3 separate regions of the Homo sapiens genome follow, and regions 2 and 3 are each linked to region 1. The links are contacts of gene promoters, found by promoter capture Hi-C in blood cells and fetal thymus (Javierre and others, 2016). All regions are on one chromosome and are shown on one strand. The core of a region is centred on a gene start or on the middle of the fragment in contact, and the rest is flanking DNA. Distances in the headings are between cores, read along the strand shown.

What was found. Contacts are between HindIII fragments. The CHiCAGO score rates a contact against its expected background, and 5 or more counts as called.
Region 2: a fragment that was not itself captured here is called in contact with the fragment with the promoter of PNPT1 in region 1 in 1 of 17 cell types (endothelial precursors); the score reaches 5.0 in endothelial precursors.
Region 3: a contact is called between a fragment that was not itself captured here and the fragment with the promoter of PNPT1 in region 1, in 1 of 17 cell types (megakaryocytes). The highest score is 5.9, in megakaryocytes.

The regions. Positions count from the first base shown.
Region 1 is chr2:55,691,353-55,695,807 of GRCh38, forward strand. PNPT1 (polyribonucleotide nucleotidyltransferase 1) reads right to left here and starts at 2,492. Exons shown (of 28, transcript NM_033109.5): 1 at 2,311-2,492. The coding sequence starts at 2,471. RefSeq lists a silencer at 1,682-1,741 and enhancers at 2,312-2,431, 2,442-2,501, 2,532-2,681. The HindIII fragment of the contact is 6,564 bases long and covers 1-4,455 here.
Region 2 is chr2:55,996,719-56,001,173 of GRCh38, forward strand. The region is part of intron 2 of MIR217HG (MIR217 host gene); the gene reads right to left. The region is part of intron 3 of LOC105374690 (a long non-coding RNA gene); the gene reads left to right. MIR216B (microRNA 216b) reads right to left here and starts at 4,077; the gene lies at 3,996-4,077. The HindIII fragment of the contact is 2,789 bases long and covers 852-3,640 here.
Region 3 is chr2:55,963,177-55,967,631 of GRCh38, forward strand. MIR217HG (MIR217 host gene) reads right to left here. Exons shown (of 3, transcript NR_126406.1): 3 at 230-706. All of the region lies in intron 3 of LOC105374690 (a long non-coding RNA gene), which reads left to right. Among named protein-coding and RNA genes, the nearest start is that of MIR217, 18 kb to the right of the region's middle. The HindIII fragment of the contact is 1,085 bases long and covers 1,949-3,033 here.

The DNA of each region.
Region 1 (4,455 bases), core at 1,242-3,741:
CTTCCAGAATGCAGTAAAGAATATATATGATAACAAATATAATGTGCCTGGTACATAGTAGTCACTCAATAAATGTTGCCAATGGCAAACAAGACAAAAATGAAAGAATTTATCCAGCAGGTATGATATTTTATTAGTCTAGTTATTTCAACACATGACACGAGTTTAAAAAGAACTACCTACAAAAGAGGAACAGGTTGATTAATAAATGAAAGAGTCAAAGTAGATTATTTATGGAAAATATGGAGGGCAGCAGCTGCATCTTGTTTTCAGTATCTAATGCCTATCTCACAGTATGTGTCTGTTGAATGAAATGTTCTGGGCATTTCTTTGAAGCATGTGTAGTCCTTGAAGAATGGAAGAGATGTCCACTTCCCTCAAAAATCAGAATTAATGAATGCTGGGAGTGGAATAAGCCTTAGAGATAACCTAGTCTAGGGGTGACCAAACTACAGCTTGTGGCCTATTTCTATATTACTCTTCAATTAAAAATGTTTATATATATATATATATATATATATATATATTTTTTTTTTTTTTTTTTTTTTTTGAGACAAAAGTTTCACTCTTATCACCCAGGCTGGAGTGCAATGGCACGATCTCTGCCACTGCAACCTCTGCCTCCTGGGTTCAACCGATTCTCCTGCCTCAGCCTCCCAGGTAAATGGAATTACAGGTGCTTGCCACCACGCCCAGCTAATTTTGTATTTTTAGTAAAGACGGGGTTTCACCATTGTAGCCAGGCTGGTCTCGAACTCCTGACCTCAGGAGATCCACCCACCTCAGCCTCCCAAAGTGCTCGGATTACAGGTGTTAGCCACTGTGCTCGGCCGTTTTTTAAAATATTTCTAAAGGGTTTGTAAACACATACACACAGTGTGTACCCCAAAAAGCCTAATATATATATTATCTGGTCCTTTATAGAAAAGTTTGCAGACCCTTGATGGAATCCACTCTCCACACTTTGCACAAGAAAATGGTGAATTAACCTGTTCAATGTCAACTACTTATCAAAGTTAGAGTGCGAGACCTGGATTCAAAATGATTTTTTTGCTTTTTGTATGAACTGGGGTCCAAATTTTTTCAAAGTACACGTAAAAAATTTAGATATATGAAGTTTGCATTAGCAATTCCATTTATTCTAAGAACGATTAAAGCAAACTTTTTTTTTAAAAAGCGGTCCCCTAAAAAAAAGTATGGGCTTTGTAAGCAAAAAACAGAAATTCAAAAACCACCTAGTCCCATAATACTAACTTTTTTATAGACTCTTAGAAAGTTATCTAACCTTTTTTGAGCCTCTGTAGTCTTAACTATAAAATGAGGGTAATAGTACCTTTACGACAGGTTTAAAAAGATTGCGAGGATCATATAACTGGCGTTCAAAAAACTGACTTTTCCTTTTCCTCCTAACCCAGGGTCATAGTGGTCACACTTTAGGCAATCAATTAGATTGGATGACATGATATCTTGTACTCCTAACTTCAAGTCATCCTTCCGTCTTAGCCTCCCAAAGTGCTGGGATTACAGGTGTGAGCGCCTGACCTTTTGCCATCTCTTTGCATCGATCTTTGCTTTTGTTTCTCTCTGTGTGTCTCCTTGCCTCTCTCCCTGTCACTGTCTCTCTCTCTCCCCTGCCTCCCTCTTGGTCTCTTTTTTTTGCTGTCTCTTTCTGATGACCTTGTTCCCATCTCTGTGCGTGTGTGGCTCTCTCCCTGTCCATCTCTTACCATCTCTGCCTTCCTCTCCCAGGTCTTAAACGAATATTTCCACAATGTCTGTGAACTGGACCTGGTGTTCAACTTCTACAAGGTAGGCTCCTGGTGAAGAGGAGGCTGAAGGAGCCCGAGGAGTGGGACGTGGGGGACCCGTGGTGCACTAGCCACCCGGAGCCTCTGCTGAGGTCTGTGTCCCAGCTCGAGGGGCATCAGAGCCCCAGCTTCCAGGGTCCGGGCCAGCATCCCGGGGGGCCTCGTCTCACCCACGTCAACTCGTTATTCCTAGGTGGAATGTTTCCCACTTAAGAGCCCAGTGGTCCCGGAAAGTAAAGAGATCGGAAGTCAGGTGGACGGACAGAGTCGGATGGAGCAAAGAAGCCCGGCACACACCAACAGAGAGAACGACATAGCGCGGGAAGGAGGGTCCGAGGAGACACATTCCAAACCCGGAAAGGGAAATTTGGAATTTAGGTTTAGGGTAAGGAGAGATTAAATAGAGCTGGGATACCGGGTTTCTACCCTGGGAGATGAATACGCTCAAGCTGGCTGGACAAGACACCTTATGACAATACAGTGAACGCACGTCACTCCTTACCTGTTGCCTAAGTCCACGGCCACAGCTCGAGACCCTGCGCTACTCCATAGTGCTCGCACTTGCAACTGGGTGAGTGCCCGATCCCGCCGTGGCAGAAGGAAAGGACCATCGCTCAGGGGCCGGAGCCGGAGGCACGAGCAGCAGTACCTGCAGGCCGCCATGACACCCGGCACGCGGTCAACGCAGGCTGTGCCCTGATTGGCTCACTCCGCAGACCGTGGGGCGGAGCCTGATGGAGTTTCGTTTCCGCGGTGCCCGAGGGACGCCGGGGTAACGGAAACCTTGGCCACCTTCTACGAAGACTAGAGAGGGTCAAACCTATCAGAACGCGATTATGTTGCAAACGATCTTTGTCTTTATGTGCCAACGAAAGGCAATTAGATAAATAAGGTTTTTGTGTGTGTACTATCGTAATTTAAAGGAGAAGTCCTAGAATAATGTAAATGTTTAATATGCAGAGTAAATTTATATTTACTTTTAATACTAGAAGTCATAGAACAACACATTATTATTATTTGGATCTGTGAACTAAGAATTAGAATTTGGGTGGTGGGCCTTGGAAAGAGATCTCCTTCTCCCCTTCTCCGCCCTGGTTTTTATTTTAAAAATTTCACATAGCAGATATGTTACTACAGCGATTTGTGTTAACCAATTTACAGTAAATTCATTTTTCATCGACTTGTAATTTTAGAAATCTTTATTGTCACTTCTGATTCATTTTCATTTCCATTGCTAATAATTAGCAATTTATATTTCTGTCCCTTTTGGTCGAACTCTTAAATGCAAAATGCCAGCTACTGTTTGAAGTAAATATTTTGTAAAATGAAAAAAAAAAGTTTTTGGGATTTGAAAAATTTTTAGAGAATGGATAAATTTCTTCCACCCCATTAATCCATTCTGTTAGAAATTCTTTATGTTTTTCCTTGAATGAACCAATGGGCATTTTCATATTATGATGTAAATTTTTTGTGTAAGGTGATAACCGCCTTACCCCAAAGAAAACCAAACAACAAAAACCCAACACTCATTCAAACACAGTTTTAAGAATTAAAAACGTTGGCTGGACGCTGTGGCTCACGCCTGTAATCCCAGCACTTTGGGAGGCCGAGGCGGGCGGATCACCTGAGTTCGAGACCAGCCTGACCAACACAGAGAAACCCCGTCTCTACTAAAAATACAAAACTAGCCGGGCATGGTGGCTTATGCCTGTAATCCCAGCTACTCGGGAGGCTGAGGCAGGGGAATCGCTTGAACCCGGGAGGCGGAGGTTGCAGTGAGCCGAGATCGCGTCATTGCAACAAGAGTGAAACTCGGTCTCAAAAAAAAAAAAAAAAAAAAAAAAAAAAAAAGTCCGGGCGCAGTGGCTCATGCCTGTAATCCCAGCACGCTGGGAGGCAGAGGCGGGTGGATCACGAGGTCAAGAGACCCAGGGCATCCTGGCCAACATGCTGAAACCGCGTCTCTACTAAAAATACAAAAATTAGCTCGGTGTGGTGGCGCGTGCCTGTAATCCCAGCTACTCCAGAGGCTGAGGCATGAGAATCGCTTGAATCCAGGAGGCGGAGGTTGCAGTGAGCCGAGATCGCGCCACTGCACTCCAGACCGAGACTCCATCTAAAAAAAAAAAAAAAAAAAAAAAAAATTAAAAATGTTGATCCGTGATGATTTAAAAAAGAAAAAAGAATGATGAGCTCTAAACAGACAAATGATTTGCTGGCAAAGCAGTTTTCTGACACCTTGCTTTCATGAGCTATTATTACTGATTTGGGATTTCCATTCCAATAGAGGGATTACCATTAACTTTGTTTACAGATTTTTAGTGTTAAAGCAGTTTTTGCGTCTCCTCCCTTTTACTTTACCTTGAGTTGCCACAGAGTTTTCCAGACCAATCTATTGAAATCTCTCATGAAGATAAATCTCTCAGAAAACCTACTTGCCACAATTGAACATGACTTTTGATTTATAGAGTAAGAATACAAAATCATCTTTTTGTTAATATACTTAATTACTATGTAATCATTTTCATTTGGGCAGTATTGCCTAATAGTTTAGAGCATAGACTTGGAGTTAGTCCCAGCTGGTTCCAATCTTGTCTCTGTTAATTACCAGTTGTGTGACTCTAGCTCTCTGAGCCTCAGTTTCCCC
Region 2 (4,455 bases), core at 996-3,495, 310 kb after region 1:
TCAAGTTAATTATTTAGGGATAAGTGTCATGTGGTAGAAAGTAAACTGGACTGTAGTTTCAGGTTTACCACTAACCAGCTATATGTCCTGGAGCCACTTAATTTTTGGGCCTCAAAATCAGCTAGTGGTTAAAATTGTGGGCTTTGGAGTCAAGCAGACCTGGTTCAAGGCCCTTATTAAGCCTCTAGGAGTTTCAGCTTTTTTTCATCTGCAAATTGAGACCAGTAATAGTCTCACTTCATATAACATTGTTATGGGGACTAAATGGGACTGTGTATGTCAAATGCCCAGTATACAGTCAGTGCTCAATATATAAGAGTGCTGGAATAAGTGGCCACTATTTTCCTTTCCAAATCCAAAGATTTGATTTCTGTGAATGGTGGAGCTTCTGAAATGTCTGTCAAGATTGTATCCAGAAAGGAATTTCAGGTCCTTGAGAGATGGCACATTGTAGCCAAGCTTTACTTCTGCATAGGCCATTGGGCATTGGTGTATTTTTGTTACACATTTATTGAAAACCCTGACATCCTTTGAAAGAAAAGAGAGGGAACCCTGTTACCCCATCAGAGGAAGAAAGACCATGTGGAGTCATCTAGCACAGTCCTTCAAGAGAAGCTGTTTGCTTGCCTTAATTAAGGGTTGTGTCTTTAGTATCACTAAGGCTAGGGCAAAGAGGCATGGCTGCGCCCAGGAAGGAAAATGATCAAAGATACATGGCCAGTGTCCTTAGGAGGGGCCGATTAGGAGGCAAAATAGTCCTCCCACCAGCATCCTCTCTCTTGCAGTTTCCACAGCAATGGGAGAAGACTGTGGTGGTGAGAAACAGCAGCAGGAGTCTAGGCTATCCTCAAAGCTTGCCCATTCACTCTAAGCATAATGACTACGTCCTACATCTTTCCAGTTCTTTATTATTAACAAATATTTTACCAGCCATGAGAAGTAAGCAGGAAAGTGAATAATTTGCCTGTTGTAAAGATCAGGAAAATCAGAGAGGCTTAATTTAAGTAGGGGAATCAGATACTGAAAACCTACATTTCCTCAGTAGACACTGGGGACCCCAAAAGGAGTGGGGAGGCAAGAGTTGAAAAACTACCTATTGGGTACTATGTTCACTATTTGGGTGATAGGGTCAACAGAAGCCCCAAACCTCAGCATTACACAATATATCCATGTAACAAACCTGGACATGTACCGCTGAATCTAAAATAATTTTTTAAAAAAGTAATAACAATCAAAAAGTAAACATGCATTTATCATATGACCCAACAATCACATCTCTTGACATTTATCCCAGAAAAATGAAAATTTATGCTCACACAATAATCTTAGACTATATTGTTTGTAGTAGTTTTGTTTGTAATACCAAGACACAGACACAAACTAAGTGTCCTTCAATGGGTGAATCATTAAACAAACTATGCTGCATCCATATCATGAAATACTACTCAACAGTAAAAAGGAACAAACTATTGATACATGCAACAGCTTGGATGGATGTCAAAAGAATTAAGCTGAGTAAAAAAATTCAATCTCAAAAGGTTACCTACTATATGATTAAATTTATAAACATTCTAAAAATGACAAAATTATAGAGATAGTAAACAGATTAGTGGTTGCCAGGAGTTAGGGATGGGGCATCAAGAGGGTAAAGAGATAGGTGTAACTAGAGAGGGGTAACACCGGGATATTTGTGGTGATGAAATAATTGTGTATCTTGACTATGGCAGTTGTTACACAAATCTACATGTGGCAAGTTGCACAGAACTATACACATGTACACACATGAGTGCTTGTACACTGGTGAAATCTGAATAAGATCTATGGGTTGTATAAATGTCAATTTCCTGGTTTAGATATTTTACTATAGTTATGTAAGATGTTCCGTTGGGGGAAATTGAGTGAAGGTACATAGAACCCCTGTATTATTATTTTTTAACTGCTTGTAAGTCTATACATTTTTCAAAATAAAAATTTGAAAAAACAAAAACAAACAACATAAAACCTAAGTTTCCTGACTTGTAGTTCCATGCTTGTTCCTCTGTGCTATTTTGTCTGAGATGTAGAATTATGCACATTTAGGTAATTTATTTCCTTCCAATTTATGTCTTTTTGAACTTCAATTTCTTTGTTAGGAGAAAAAAAGGACTATAAAATAGGAGTGCCAATAATACCTTCTTCACTGGGTTTGTGAGAAAACTAAGTTAAATAATATGTGTAGAGTGCTTCATGCAATAGTGACTATTGGTCGTTGTTATCAAATACTTAAAACACTCCTACTGCCTGGGAGGATGCTAAATTCCTAGCAATGTTTTTATTGTTTCCTTTAATGAAACCTCATGTTTTGAAATATTTTGTGTAACAAATTGCATATATGGTTAATAATTTTTTTCTTTTGTTACTATCAAAGGCATTTTAGACTGTTAGTTGGAGCTTCTGATTAGCAATTGCATCAATATTGAGTTGAATTAAATCCAATGAAAGCAAAGAAACCTGATATTTGGAGAGCCTTCTTATCCTCATCTAAGGAAATGTATTTCTTTCAGGTCACCTGAAGTGGTGAAGTGTCTAAAACATCTTGTTGATCTCCAGCACTGAGTTTACAGACTCTAGACATAGTTGGGCTCCACTTTTCAATGAACAAGCCAAACCTTATTATTATAATCTGAGTGAGTTGACATTTTGTGTGTGATCTAATTCAATTTTTGAATGTTACAATTTTTTCCATCACATCATGGGAAATTGGTGTGGTCCAGAAATAATCCAAATGAATTCACTAAGAATGAAACTGAAGATGAATTTTTAACATGCTACCAGAAGTTATTGATTAACAGGCATACCAATGTTTCAGATACTAACAGATACATAACATTATTATAAATATATAAAAATCAAATTATGGCTTTTATTCATTGTCATTGAAGACCAATTTCAATAATAATTTTTAATACTTTTTATTTTTTGTTTTACCTTTTAGTCATGACATTTTTATTATATTAGAGGAGAAGGGAAAATAATTTTTTTAGTATATAGAAATTGGATTGCTTACAGACAAATTAAACTTAGGAGGGAAAATTATAAAGGATGTTGAAAACTATAAATTTAAACAAACATCTCTTATTTTGACAGGATATGTTTCAGAGAGAACAAATCTTGAGTCTTTCAAATATTACTGGGCCAGACTAAAATAATTTCATTGTGAGAGCATTTTCCTTCTCTGTGTGCAGTCTAAGTGCATATTTTGTGCTCTTAGGAATAACTTTCCAAAGCTGTGCGAAGAATGTAGCAATAAAATCTAATAAGAATTATGGCTCATGACTTGAATGATGTCAGTACCCTTTTAATCCTCCCAAACATGAAAACGTTTTCTCCTCTTAAATAAGATTTCTTAACTCCTTATTTCTAAGGAAATAAGTACATCTGAGCAATTCTATTGGCAAAGTAAGAGTTAAATGAAAATGTTTCTTTCCATTATTATTAATGCTTATACTTATTAAGACCACTACTTTAGAAATGTATTCTAGACAATATTTTTATGAATACATATTATTTTGTCTGATTATTTTAGTGTTCCAGTTATAATCTTTTGCTCTCTCTAAGCCAGTGGTTCTCAAACTTGAGCATGAATCGGAATTACCTGGAAAGCTTGTTGAAACACAGATTGCAGGGCCCATTCTGAGTTTCTGATTCAGGAGGCCTCTAGTGGGGTGCAAGAATTTGCATTTCTAACAGGTTCCTAGGTGACGCTGCTGATGCTAGTCTGGGAATCAAACTTTGACAACAACTGCTTTAAGCCATGTTACAAACAACCTTCTTATTTTAAAATTTAATTTAGTGGGATTCAACCATCACGAGGCATGTAGTCACCTTGGTTTAGAAGAAGTTAAAGTTCAGTAAGTGGGCTATAGCTTGGCTTTTTGGCCATGCTAGATTTATTCCAGGCCAAAGAACTGCTTATAACAAAAGCATAGTTGATGAAATGGTTCGATGCTTGAAGATGTCAGACTGTAGAATCTCTACGGGTAAGTGTGTGATTTCCTCAGTGACATCACATTTGCCTGCAGAGATTTTCCAGTCTGCCACTTTGAAGTTGTACTTAAGATAGAAAAAAGTTGTCGTCATTCTACAGTGATCTTTCTGGTCTTGCTAAATTTTAAAACTATATTTATTCAAGATTAAAATTGATGGGAAGTAGGAGTTATAGCTGGGATTCAGATAGGTGCATAAATGAGAATGGATACTCTCTAATTTTGCCACACATCTCCATAGAGAATGAAGGAAAAGATGAAAAGTGAAGTTTCCCAAGCCACAACCAGTGGATGAGACTAGTATACCTTGGTCATGGAAGAAAGACGAGGCTTCTTATGCCATCATTCATTTTTTTTTCTCAAATTATGCTGTTTGTTTCATATGTGCTTATTTTACCAGTGTGTTAGTCACACCAAAAGCCTTATGGTC
Region 3 (4,455 bases), core at 1,241-3,740, 270 kb after region 1:
GGTGTTTGGGGAATAACAAAATATTTCAGAATCATTAAGGGTATTCCAACAGGGAATTTGGGAGTGGTTGAGATGCTTTGTGTGCTTCTAAGAAGGCAGGATGGGAGAGATTAGAAGAGGAAAATGGTTTTAAAATTTCACTCACAGATTTGTAAATATAGTCAGCATTGCTGCAGGTCCATAACACAATAAAATGATTACAAATTGGTAAAAAGATGATGGCTCTTTCTGGTCTCAGTTTAATGAAACTGAGATGTTAAAACAAAAAACAATTTACATGTTACAAAGGTAAGGTTATTAATGTGTGATATTAGAGCTCTTCCCTGGCCAAAACTCTGAAGACTTTTAGATGAAGCCTTTTAAATAAGTTTGTGATACCATTTTGATACAAATGGCGACACCACAGATCACTTCTTTATACAGATTTTCATGTAGAGATGCTCTGAGGAAGGTGCTGTGAAGTTTTGGAAAGAATAAAGACCTGGGTTCAGAATATGCTGGGTCAGTAATTTGCTGGCTGTGTGGTTGTAGGTAAGTTCTTTAGCCCCAGAATCCACACTTAATAAATTGAAGTGATTCTTCTTCTCTCATAGGCTTGTTCAGAAAAGGCTCCATGTTTTCTTCTTGCCACATCTTTCAGGTTTCTAGGAGAGTTTTGCTACATACCTGTTTTCCAAGATCATGTCAATCATTAAGGCCTAAAGAGCTAAAAAAAAAAAAGAGAGAGAAAAAAATATTGTTTGGGTTAAGTAGTACATGAAAATTTAAACTCCCTCTTTTAGCTATGCCAAAGAGGAACACATTTAACATTGAAGGCAAAAGAGTCTTTGCTCCATGGACTGTAAGGAAACTTGCATTTTCAGGTTTTTATTTAGGTGTGGAGATATGGAAAAGAGCAGGAGTTTACAATTTCTGCACATAGGGCTCAAAGGCTTATCCAGGCATTTTCTGCGTGGTTGTGTTTGAACCTGGTTGTTGATTGCTTTTCACGCAGACCTCTTTCCTACGTTCATTTTTTTCCTTCATTTAATTCAAACATTTTAACCATTGGGTGCACGTTATTGAACACGATTCTTGTGTCTTTACGGTTTAGCATCATTACCTAATTCTGGACGACAAGCTCAAATGTATGTGCAGGTCAAAAGTGAAGCCGGCCCTGTAATACGACTGTGAGTACTGGAGACTGGTGAACTGGGGACCTCAGTCCAGACAGCAGCCACCAGTCAAAGGCTTGTTGCCACATCAGTATGTGAGCTGCCTAGTGCCAGATCTTCCAACTTTTTTGAGAGCAGTCAGAAATATAGACTTGATTTTTAAAACACTGTGCAAATCAAACAGAGCTCATTGTCTGAGGACTGCTTGTTTTGTGTACTTGAGTTCCAGATACAGTTAGCACCTCTCTCACTATCTGTTTCCTAATAATGTGATAGTTAAGAGCTAGATAAACTGGGATCAAATCATAGCCGCATCACATACATTCTAACTGTGTGACTTCAGAAAGTTACCTGCTATCTCATTTATGAAGTAGAGATGATAATAGCTCTTATCTTATTGGGTTTTAGGGAAGACTTATATGAGCTGAAATACAGATGTGCTTAGAATAGTGCCTGGGATGTAGTAGGTGCTACTGAAGTGTTTAATATTGTTAGAGTCTCTTTTATATCATCTCACTAAGAGGCCACACTCCTCTTCTTGTGAGGTCTGGGAAGAGAGAAGGAAGAAGAAGGGAAACTACCCTTTATTGAGTATCTCCTGTTTGCCAGGAATTATGCCATGTGCTTTGTATAACATTTCCTCATTTAATCCTCATGTAGAGTCTTGAGTTAGATGTCATTTGCATTTTATAGTAGAGAGAACTGAGGCTCAATGAGATTCAGTGACTTGTCCAAGGCAGAAAAGGGATTTAGACTTAAGTAGATCTGATTCCAAACAGATCATTTTACTAGAAAGCTTACCACTCTTGATCCAGGGAGAGCTGTGAATTTGATGTTTGCTAGGAAATTGCCTTCTAAATGAATCCACTTGGTGTTATGAGAAAAACTTAGGACTGTAATGTTTCCTCCCCACCACCCACCCCCCAAACTGGGAAGGTATCAGGAGACCAAAATGTTTTGGACAAGTCCAGCTTGGTGAGTAGATGGGTTTATTAAGACTTACTTACAGAGCACTCCTGGGCAGCAGCAGGACAGCTCTAGAGATTCATCCCACTTCCCATCTCTCATTTAAGCTAATTATTTGGCTCTTTGCCTACTGTGCCTGTGTGATGGGACTGTTTTCCTTGGTATGTTTGTGTTCTCAGAGACACCTGCTCCTCGGCTGGGCACGACAGCCTTAGCTCACCACCTGGCCTTTAAGGTTCAGGCAGTGGACATATACCCTTAAGTAACCTGGTAGGGGACCCATCACACTACACTTGGAGCCAGATTAACTAGGGAGAGCTTTGCTCCTCATTAACCTACTGTCCCTGCTGGGCAAGCATCAGCTCCCTGAGGGGAGGGATAGGGTCCTTTTCTATCTGAAGCTCCCAACATATTCAGTGAACTCAAATGCTACAAAGATATGAAAGAGGGACTCAAAGTAGGCTCTCACAGTTTTGGAGAGTCTGGACATAGCATGCAATGATAGGTCTGGCCAGGCCAAGTATTAGCCTTTAATTCCTGCACTAAAAGCCCCTCAAATATTACAACACTTGTGCCTCCCTTTATAACAGTGTTCTTTATGGTATCAATTAATACAATCAGAGTAGATGGGAGGTGTGAAGGTGTGTGTGAAGGGAAGGAGGAAGGGAGCCAGAAAAGAAAGAAAGTGGGAAGCGTGTCTGTAGAGATAAGGAGAGCAGGGCTGTGAAAGGCAAAAGTCATTGGACAAACTTCCTGTCAGCTCCACAAAGTAATTTCAGCTTAGATGAACTTCCCAAATCAGGACAGAATCAAGAAGCACACGCAACAGTTTCCTTGGAAAGCCCTTTTCACCTCATTGGGCTCTGCTGAAAACAGCTTTTGTTTTTGGTAGGTGGAATAAAAGAGTATGAGAAGCTTACTCAGAATATCTATCTGCTGTTATAAATCACACAAAGTTTTTCCCAGTTAGGGCTTAAGTCACATCCATCTACAACTCTGAAGCAGAAAAACATGTGAGTCTTTCTGCTGGCCGGTGAAATGTTTTCAAAGGATTTTAATTCTTCTCCCATCTGAGAAGTTTGAACACACAACTTTCTAGTTTTTGCTTCATTGACTCAAATGTGTTGGGAGTCAGTGGAATTACCAGTCATGAACTAAATGATTAATAGGTCTGTTTTTAAGAATCAAGTGGAAAACAAATAGAGAAACGAGAACTACAGTTCCCACTCTGTCACTTTATCACTTTGCTCTCTGTCTCCCAGGAGACTGAGGGACAGTCAAGGCCACTGAGTCACCACCTTGCTGTTCCCTTTCAGTCTCTCCAGATGGAGTGCCAAGGCTGCAAAGGCTGCGCCGCCCCATCCCGGGGGTCAGGCAGGCTCACAGATGGACCTTTGGAAGTAATCCAGATGCAGAGCAACACTGAGCCCATCCATCCAGAGCCAAGTGTCAGTGTCTGAATCAATGTTCAGCAAGAGCTCTTTAATAAGCTTAATATCTAGAGTCCTGTACTTCCTGGCTGAAGGAGCTCTGGCAAGTTACTTACCCTCCCTGATTCTCATTTTCCTCATCTGTGAAATGGGAATAATCCCAAAAGCTACCTCACATGTGTGTGATGATTAAATGAGTTTTACCACGTGTAAAAAGGCTTTGTGCACATGTTCATTAATACTGTAAATATTAGTATAATGTTTTAGAGGTTTATTGATCACAAGAGCAGGTGACTATATTTGCACTGGAAATAACCCTTTTCAAAGTGCTTTTATTTTGCGAATGATTTTAAAAGGCACTTGGTGTGAGATCAGATACCTTCATTTACCACTCCAAAAATTAGAAATAGAAATCTCCATTTTATTATAAGCAGATTTTTATTCCTTTGTGTAAATTATCAAGATTGTATAAAGGGATATAATATGGTCTTGTTCCTTGGAGGGAGAAAATGGTGTAATTATACAGCGAAAACATGTAGATAAAGCAATGATCAATTAGATGGATTAAACATGATTAAAAACAGTCAAAGAGGGATAAAATTATTTTTTTTCTTTTTAAAAGAGGTAACTTTGTTCCATACTTACTGTTTCCGTATACTGGATTGTTTCTCATTTACACTAAATGGAACACAAAATTGTCCGGCCCAAATAAAAGTTTCACAAAGCTTGGTTTCTAGTTTGAACCAAAGGTGTTTCTTGGTTAGTATTAAGCAGCGTTATGAATTCTCAGGGATTATCCTTGGACATTTCCCTGTATCACATTTTTATAGGTAGGAGAACTGATCGGAATTACAGCAGCAAAGCAGAATTCAGAACTGGGCTCTGCAATCACAGATCTTCCCTTT